Regions from separate parts of the Homo sapiens genome. Here region 1 is linked to region 2. Evidence: promoter capture Hi-C in human tissues and cell types (Jung and others, 2019). All regions are on one chromosome and are shown on one strand. The core of a region is centred on a gene start or on the middle of the fragment in contact, and the rest is flanking DNA. Distances in the headings are between cores, read along the strand shown.

What was found. The method cuts DNA at HindIII sites, captures the fragments that hold promoters and counts their contacts. A contact is called where the count stands out against the background at its distance.
Region 1: a contact is called between a fragment that was not itself captured here and the fragment with the promoter of GNG12 in region 2, in 1 of the 25 tissues and cell types used here (aorta).

What each region holds. Positions count from the first base shown.
Region 1 is chr1:67,692,798-67,696,522 of GRCh38, reverse strand. No RefSeq gene overlaps it. Among named protein-coding and RNA genes, the nearest start is that of GADD45A, 9.5 kb to the right of the region's middle. The HindIII fragment of the contact is 9,732 bases long and covers 1-3,725 here.
Region 2 is chr1:67,832,003-67,835,774 of GRCh38, reverse strand. GNG12 (G protein subunit gamma 12) reads left to right here and starts at 2,308. Exons shown (of 4, transcript NM_018841.6): 1 at 2,308-2,431. It overlaps GNG12-AS1 (GNG12, DIRAS3 and WLS antisense RNA 1), which reads right to left and starts at 3,487. Exons shown (of 10, transcript NR_040077.1): 1 at 3,339-3,487. The HindIII fragment of the contact is 19,373 bases long and covers 1-3,772 here.

The DNA.
Region 1 (3,725 bases), core at 95-2,594, 140 kb after region 2:
AAAAATGAATTATAGAAAAGCATTTTGAATATTGACAGCCTACCACTAATAGAATTAAGGAGCAAAGTTCTTTAACAAACTTAAAGTGTCAGTAGCACCTTATGAGTTCATAAAACATAACTACAAAAAGAAAAATAGCCCACTCAAACATTAAATATGAATGACAGTGCGTTTGGTTTATAGAAACAGAACAAAGAGAAATTTATTTATTTGTTGAGCTCCTACTAGCACTGTGGTAGGTATGTCCTAGGATAAACCCAGAAAACACAAGGATAGTGGGAGTGGGAGTAACAGGTGCAGGGGCAGTAGGAAATAAACAGATAAATTGCTATGCAATATGGTAAATGCTATCATAAGAAATTGTTCTGTCTGAATGAGTCAGAAAAGATTTCATAGAAGAGATAATATATTAGTTGAACTTTGAAGAACAAGTAGGAGTTTGTTGGTAAAGAATAGGGAAAGGATATTCTCAGCAGTGAAAAATAGTGTATGCAAAAGCCCCAAGATCTAAGGAAGCCTGGAGTGTTAGAGCAACAGAGATCTTTGCAACGGAAGTATGGGAATGAGAATGTGGACAAGGCTGGGAAGGAAAGTTGGGTCAAATAATCAAAGGCCAAGAGTTTGTACTGAATTATATGGGGGGAAGGGTAGTTGTTCAGAGATTTTTTTTTTTTTTTTTTGAGACGGAGTCTCACTCTGTCGCCCAGGCTGGAGTGCAGTAGCGGGATCTCGGCTCACTGCAAGCTCCGCCTCCCGGGTTCACGCCATTCTCCTGCCTCAGCCTCCCGAGTAGCTGGGACTACAGGCGCCCGCCACCACACCGGGCTAATTTTTTGTATTTTTAGTAGAGACGGGGTTTCACCGTGTTAGCCGGGATGGTCTCGATCTCCTGACCTCGTGATCCGCCCGCCTCGGCCTCCCAAAGTGCTGGGATTACAGGCATGAACCACCGTGCCCAGCCGGTAAGAGATTTTTAAGCATGGTCTTGACATGAAGATAATTAGAATGAACAAGGAAAATAAACTACTGAAGAAAAACTGGAGGTCGTGTTTCTAATTTCTGTGGGGAGTAGGGAGTGGAGGGTGGTATTCACTATTCTTTTATTAGTTCTTCAACTCCTTTCCATTCCAAACCCTTATCACTCTCCTCCAACCCCACCCCCTATTTACATCCTCTGTGATCTGTTTCTGTCTACCTCCTCAGCCTGCCTTTCTCCACTCCCTTCCTTAAATACTTAATCCCCTAACAAACACCACAGAGCCCCACACATGCCACACCCCTCACCCCAATGAGCTCCTAAATGCTCTTCAAGAGTCACATCAAGCATCACCTTCTCCTGGAAGGTTTCCTGACCACCCCCTACACACACACACACACACACACACACACACACACACACAGACACACACACACACATTGTGCATACCCATGCTTGCCGTGACACCACTCTGGCTTGAAAATTATGTGTGTCTGTCAGCTTCCTATAGTTCCTATAGCAAACTGCATGTAGCAACTGTGTCACAATCATCTTTATGGAGCAAGCTCTAGCACAGTACTTGATACACGGTACTTATGTTCTCACAACCTTGATTTTGAACAGAAACTGTTCTGATAGCCTAAATGACAGATAAAGAACTAAATTAAGTTAATGGAAATGGAGAGGGGAAACTAGATTAGTGAAAATTAACATAATTTAATTGGATGGTGTCTTGCTGAATTCAGTTATGTTGGGCTATGTAGTTTACTGGGTGGTTTTTTTTTTTTACTTATATAACTAATTTGCAAACAGAACAATTAAATATTAATGGAATATAAACAGGCATAGAAAATCACCAGTTCATGGAAGATGCAATTATTATTAGCTTACATATATTGACTGCTTCTAGGAACTGAGCTAGGTTCTTTCTATGCATTGTTTCCTTTCCTTTTCACCATAACCCGATGATATAAGCCTTGTTTATTTCCCCAGTTTTACAGGAGAAATAACTGAGGCTTCGAGAGTTACACTAACTTTCCCAAGTTCCAGCTAGGATCCAGGATTCAAGCTCAAGTCTTTCTGCCTCTAAAACCCAATGTCTTTTTTCTTCATTTTTGTTATTCTTTTCTTTCTTACAAAAATAGGGTCTTGCTATGTTGCCCAAGCTGATCTCAAACTCCTAGCCTCAAACAAGCCTCCCAGCTAGGCCTCCCAAAGTGCTGGTATTACAGGCTGGTATTAAGACAATGGCCTGGAGTGGCGGCCACTGTCTTAACTGCTGTACTCTTGTTCTTATCTTTTGCTAGCCCTGTCCTTCACAGTTATATAAAGAAGCAAAATCAAATCAGAAGACCTCCAGATGACCCATTTCTTGCTGAGTGCTTATTTCAATGATGGTAAGATGATTACAATATGGTGATATAATCATGTGTTAAGTGATGATACTAAGAAAGTTTGCTGCTTTTCTGTATAAATTCTTTCTCAGACAATTCTAGAAAAGATATTAGCATAAAAGCATGCAGGGACACAAAGATCAACTTTTCAATGATGCTTAGAACTTTCCCAGTTCTAAGATGAAAGAAGACAATTCTTAGAATTCTCCCTTGAGTGTTTTTTGTCTCCTTTAGATTTCCCAAGGCTCTGCCCCACTTATTGGATAAGTAAAAGATTCGATTCAATTAGTTTCATCCTTCCCCAGTCTAATCTCTGCTGTCTGGTTGGCCTCTTTGAGAGACTGACCTAGCATCAAGAGGACTGAATTCACCGTAAAATTCTGATTCTTCCACTTCCTTGTCATGGGACCTTGGAGGTGTCTCTTGATTGCTCTGAGCCTCAGTTGCTTTAGCAGAGAATCAAATGAATTAATGAATGTGAAAATCCATGAAAGGCAGAAAGTACTAGTGGTTGTAAGAAAAATGGAAGTGGCCAGCCACGGTGGCTCACGCCTGTAATCCCAGCACTTTGGGAGGCCGAGGCAGGAGGATCACCAGGTCAGGAGTTCAAGACCAGCCTGGCCAACATGATGAAACCCTGTCTCTACCAAAATATAAAACATTAGCCGGGTGTGGTGGCATGCACCTGTAATCTCAGCTACTCGGGAGGCTGAGGCAGGAGAATTGCTTGAACCTGGGAGGCAGAGGTTGCAGTGAGCCAAAATTGTGCCACTGCACTCCAGCCTGGGCAACACAGTGAGACTCGGTCTCAAAAAACAAACAAACAAACAAACAAAGAAAAAAGAAAAAATGAAAACTGGAAGCCCCACTTACTTCTCAGCACCTACTGTGTGCCTGACACTGAGCAGTACTCATAGTATAACAATAACAGATTTTAATCATGCTTGTCAGCTTCTCCCTCGTCTTCAAAGTGCCTAGCACCATGTCTAGCACATAACAGGTGTGTTGATCTGTCGGTTCAAGGAGAGGTAAGAACCATTCTGTTTGCAGACTCTCCCACCTTTTGTGTAGTGATCACCTGAGTTAACTTGAAAATTATCTGTCTCCAGGTAGCAAATGGTTCTGGTACACCTCTTCATGGGAATCCCTGCAATTTTTGCAGAGAAATATGCATCCCTTTTGGTGGGCTAACATCAAGGGAAACTGGAAACTGACCATGTAGAAGCTTCTCCCTACCTAATCCCTGAGATTTGTAAAGAGAGCTCCGAGAGAGCATTCATTATTTCTCAAACTTCCCTTATAAGAATTACCTGAATTACTTGTTAAAAACATATACATATATATATAATTTTTTC
Region 2 (3,772 bases), core at 1,059-3,558:
ATATAAACTAGAGTAGAAGATTGATGCTTGCTTTTCAAACCCATGATTACATGCTTGGAGTTACTAACTGCCAGGGTAATATATGTACAAAATAACAAAAGTGAGTCAATAAGAAATATAAATAAAAAATAGGAATTACAGTTGTATGAAAATGGAATGTGAATCCTTTAAGTTTGGGAAACATCAGCAGAGTAGAAAGGACACTGGATCAAGGGCATCGATAAAAGCACAAAGTATTGGGTCAGCCAGCCAAGGTTTGAATCCTGGCTCTGCCAGTTTTGCTCTGTAAGACCTAACCTTCCTGTGACTACGTCCTTAGGTTGTTAGGAGGATTAAAAGGTTTAATATATGTAAAGCACTTAAAGCAACATCTGCTACGCAGAAAGTGCTGGTTAAGTATTAGCTCTTATCATTCCTGCCTTGCTATTAGGTTGATGCAAAAGTAATTGCGGTAATAACTTCTGTACTAACCTAATACTATCTCGATCAGTGCTTCTCAAACTATCTGTGATATTTTATTTTCAATCTGTTGCAGGCTGATGCCTTTCCACATAAAAGAAAAATGAAATAGACATAAAATACAAAGCTGCATTTTAAACGATTTAACAGACATAAAATTACTCTGTCAAATTGCTGTAAGTTTCTACATGCTCATCTTCAATTTCTATGCTCATCCCTTTGTAGATGGGTAACGGTTTGCAGACTGTCACTATTCCATGAACCACACTTTGAACAGCACTCAACTAGAAAAACCTTCGACAAGCCGCTTAAGTTACTGGTGGCAATATGTGGTGTTCCAGCTTCCAGGTTTTTTCAAGAGACTAATGAGAGAAAAGTAAGAGTAAGTACATGAAAGCACTTATTAAACTATAAAGTGTCCCAGGAAGGAAAATTAGTAGCATAGCTTAGAGGAGTCTATTCTGTGGTCTGTGGCCAAAAAATACAAACTCCAGTATGCCACCCTCTCAGTCCCTGTGGTGTCAAGCTGTTCTGTTTCAGGTGTATCATTTGAACTGTTAGTACTTGTGAATCAGTCAAGCATTTCCTAATGCTGAACAGAACAGGAAATAAAGACCCCTCTGGCAGTCTGTGGCTTGCATCCCACAAACCACCGCCATCCGCAGCTTGCTAAGACCACACTCCTGGGGCAAGGCATGCATTCATACACCTACTCTACCTGTGACACCTCTTCTACATGTGCAAATGATTTCACTAAACCTGAAACTTGCTTAGGGGTCAGAAGGAAAGCAAGAGGGAATATAATGCCCTGACTGCAGTCCCTAGTTCCCAGATTCCCCAGGGCCCACTTGTCCTCAGTTGGTGAAACTCAATACACAGACATCCCTCACCAATGCTTTCAGACTCCATTTCAAGTGTGGACTCTGCCCACACTGGTTCTAAGTGACCTACTTTGGCCTCACCTCTTTTCTCTCCACCCTGTCAAACAAGAAAGCGGCTACCTAGGAATACTCTAGAAGTCCGCTGAGTGGTTTTCTGAACATCCAGCTTCTTTACTCTTTCTGGACTCCAAGAAGGCAAGCCCCTTGTCTGATTCATCTTTGTACCTCTCCCATCACCTTTAGCATCGCAGTTGGTACACAGCGGGTGCTTGGTAATGTCTGTCGAATGGCCAAAGGAATAGTACAAAATCTGTGGAAGCGGAAATGGCTCCTCCATTTACCCGACCTTGAACCCTTCCAGAAAAGACCAACCAAATCCCATTAATTCATTAGGCAGAACTCTGCCAGGTACTGGACATTCGGAAACAAATTTCAGGGGGTCGGGGCAGATGGACGGGAAGCTCATGGTGGGTGGATGTACTACAAATTCTATAATCCGCAGTTATACCTCCACTTTCTGGGAAACTTCTCTCCGTGGCCCCAGGGCCCTTTAAATGTTACTATGCGTGTTTTCCTCCATAGTTTCTGGAACAGAACCAAACTTTCGTGTAGGGGTTTGGCAGCGCTCATCCTCACAGCCCTGGGGACCGCTGGCACAGGGGCAAGCGAGGCGTTCGCACGCGAAGGAAACTTGCGAGGAGTCAGGGCGGCCCCGCGCGGGGGCGGGTCGTAGAGTGGGGGCCCTCAAGTCCTAGAACTTCAGGTCCTCCATGAGAATTAGAGGAAGGGGGATGGCCAAAGACGACCAGACGTCCACCGAGCTTCCACAGGCCAGGCCTCGCCCCTCCTCCTGCGGGGCCACAACGCGGGCTCCCCGGCCCGGGACAGCACAGCCAGGGCGTCCGGGCGGGAGGCAGGGCCCGGCGCGGAGGAAGGAGCCCGGGGCCGCCGCCGCCCCGCCCACCCCAGCGAGGCGGAGCCGGCGCCCGGAGGAGCAAGAGGAGGAGGAGGAGGAGAGGTCGGAGCCGTCTCCAGGAGCCCTTAGAGACCGAGTCCCGGCGGCGACGGCGGGGCAGCGCACCGGCAGGCGGGTGAGTACCAAGCGGCGGGCGCGGGTGGTGAGTCGGGTCCCCGCGGGGTCGGGGCGCGGCGCGGGGCGTCGGCCAGCGAGTTCGGGGGCCGCCTCCGAGTCCCGGGTGCTGGGAAGCGAGATGGAGGGAGGGAGCGGAGGAAGGAAGGAAGGAGGGAAGAGTGTCCTGCTGGAGGGCGGGGACTGGTCTGGGCGCTGGGCGCCGGAGACCGGGGGGAGGGGGAGGAAGGGGCCAAGGGACACCGAGACCCAGAGGCAGAAACGGCGCGCGCGCCCTCGACGGGCGGCCGCCCGAGGTTGCGGGAAGCCGCCCCCACGGCTGTGGCTGGGGCTAGGGCTGGGGGTGGAAGGAAAGGTCTCCCCTTGAGCTCGCTTGCCTCCTCGCCAGCCTGCGGCCGTGCGCCCCGCGCCGGGTTGGGAGGCCCCCAGTGTTCCCAGCCGTGGCTTGTGGTGGTGTCAGGCGTTGGAGGAGGGCTGGCATGTGGGGGCGACAGGGACGCCACGCCCCTCTGCCTACTTTCTACCTCCCGGGACCAGCCGGCGGGAGCGCAGCCTTGGAATCCGCTGGGCGCTGGGGGTCTAGCAGGGAAATAGCGGGTCGCAGAGGGGAGAGCCCATATGACGCACCCCGCGAGGGACCCCCGAGTGGGGACCCGAGGCTGCTTTTCTGCAGACTGTATTTGCAAGTGGTAAGGGGGAGGTTGAGGCTTAGTCTTGGGTGATTTTTTTTTTTTTAATTATTGCCCCGACAGTTATCCCGTGGGGCAGGGTGAATTCTGTTTTTCATTTTAATTAGGGCATATCAATTAAAGCTAACTTTAAAACGCTGTCACTTAGCACCTCCCGTCACTCACTCGTCCCTCGCTTTGTGTGTCCTGTAAACTTGGCTTAAATCATTCATAACTCACGATAAGGAAGCCGTGATTCTTGTTCACGTCGCCGCAGTGGAGTGAAACTTTGCCCAACTGGGACTGAGTGGAGGCATTGCTGCGGCCGGTCATCTGGTGGTCATCCTGCCGGGCGTGGTTGTATACAAACAAGTGGGTCGAGAAGGAAATCTCTGAACACCAGAGGTAGAAGGGAGGTTCCTGCGCCCACGTGTCAGGGCGCGTTTAATGGCTGCTCCCAGCGGAAACAAACGGGAATTTATTAGACCGTGTGGAGTTGGACAAACTTCACATGATTAGCTTCCTTCCCATCAGTTACTTCCTCTCCCCCCTGCTGTCTTTGCCGACACAGTTTATATTTCCTGGGGCGGTTGTAGCTTCGCCTGAATAGGCTGTGTATAATGAATCTTTTGGATGTCGTCAGAGGCAGGGTCTGCGTCTGTGCCTTCTCTATT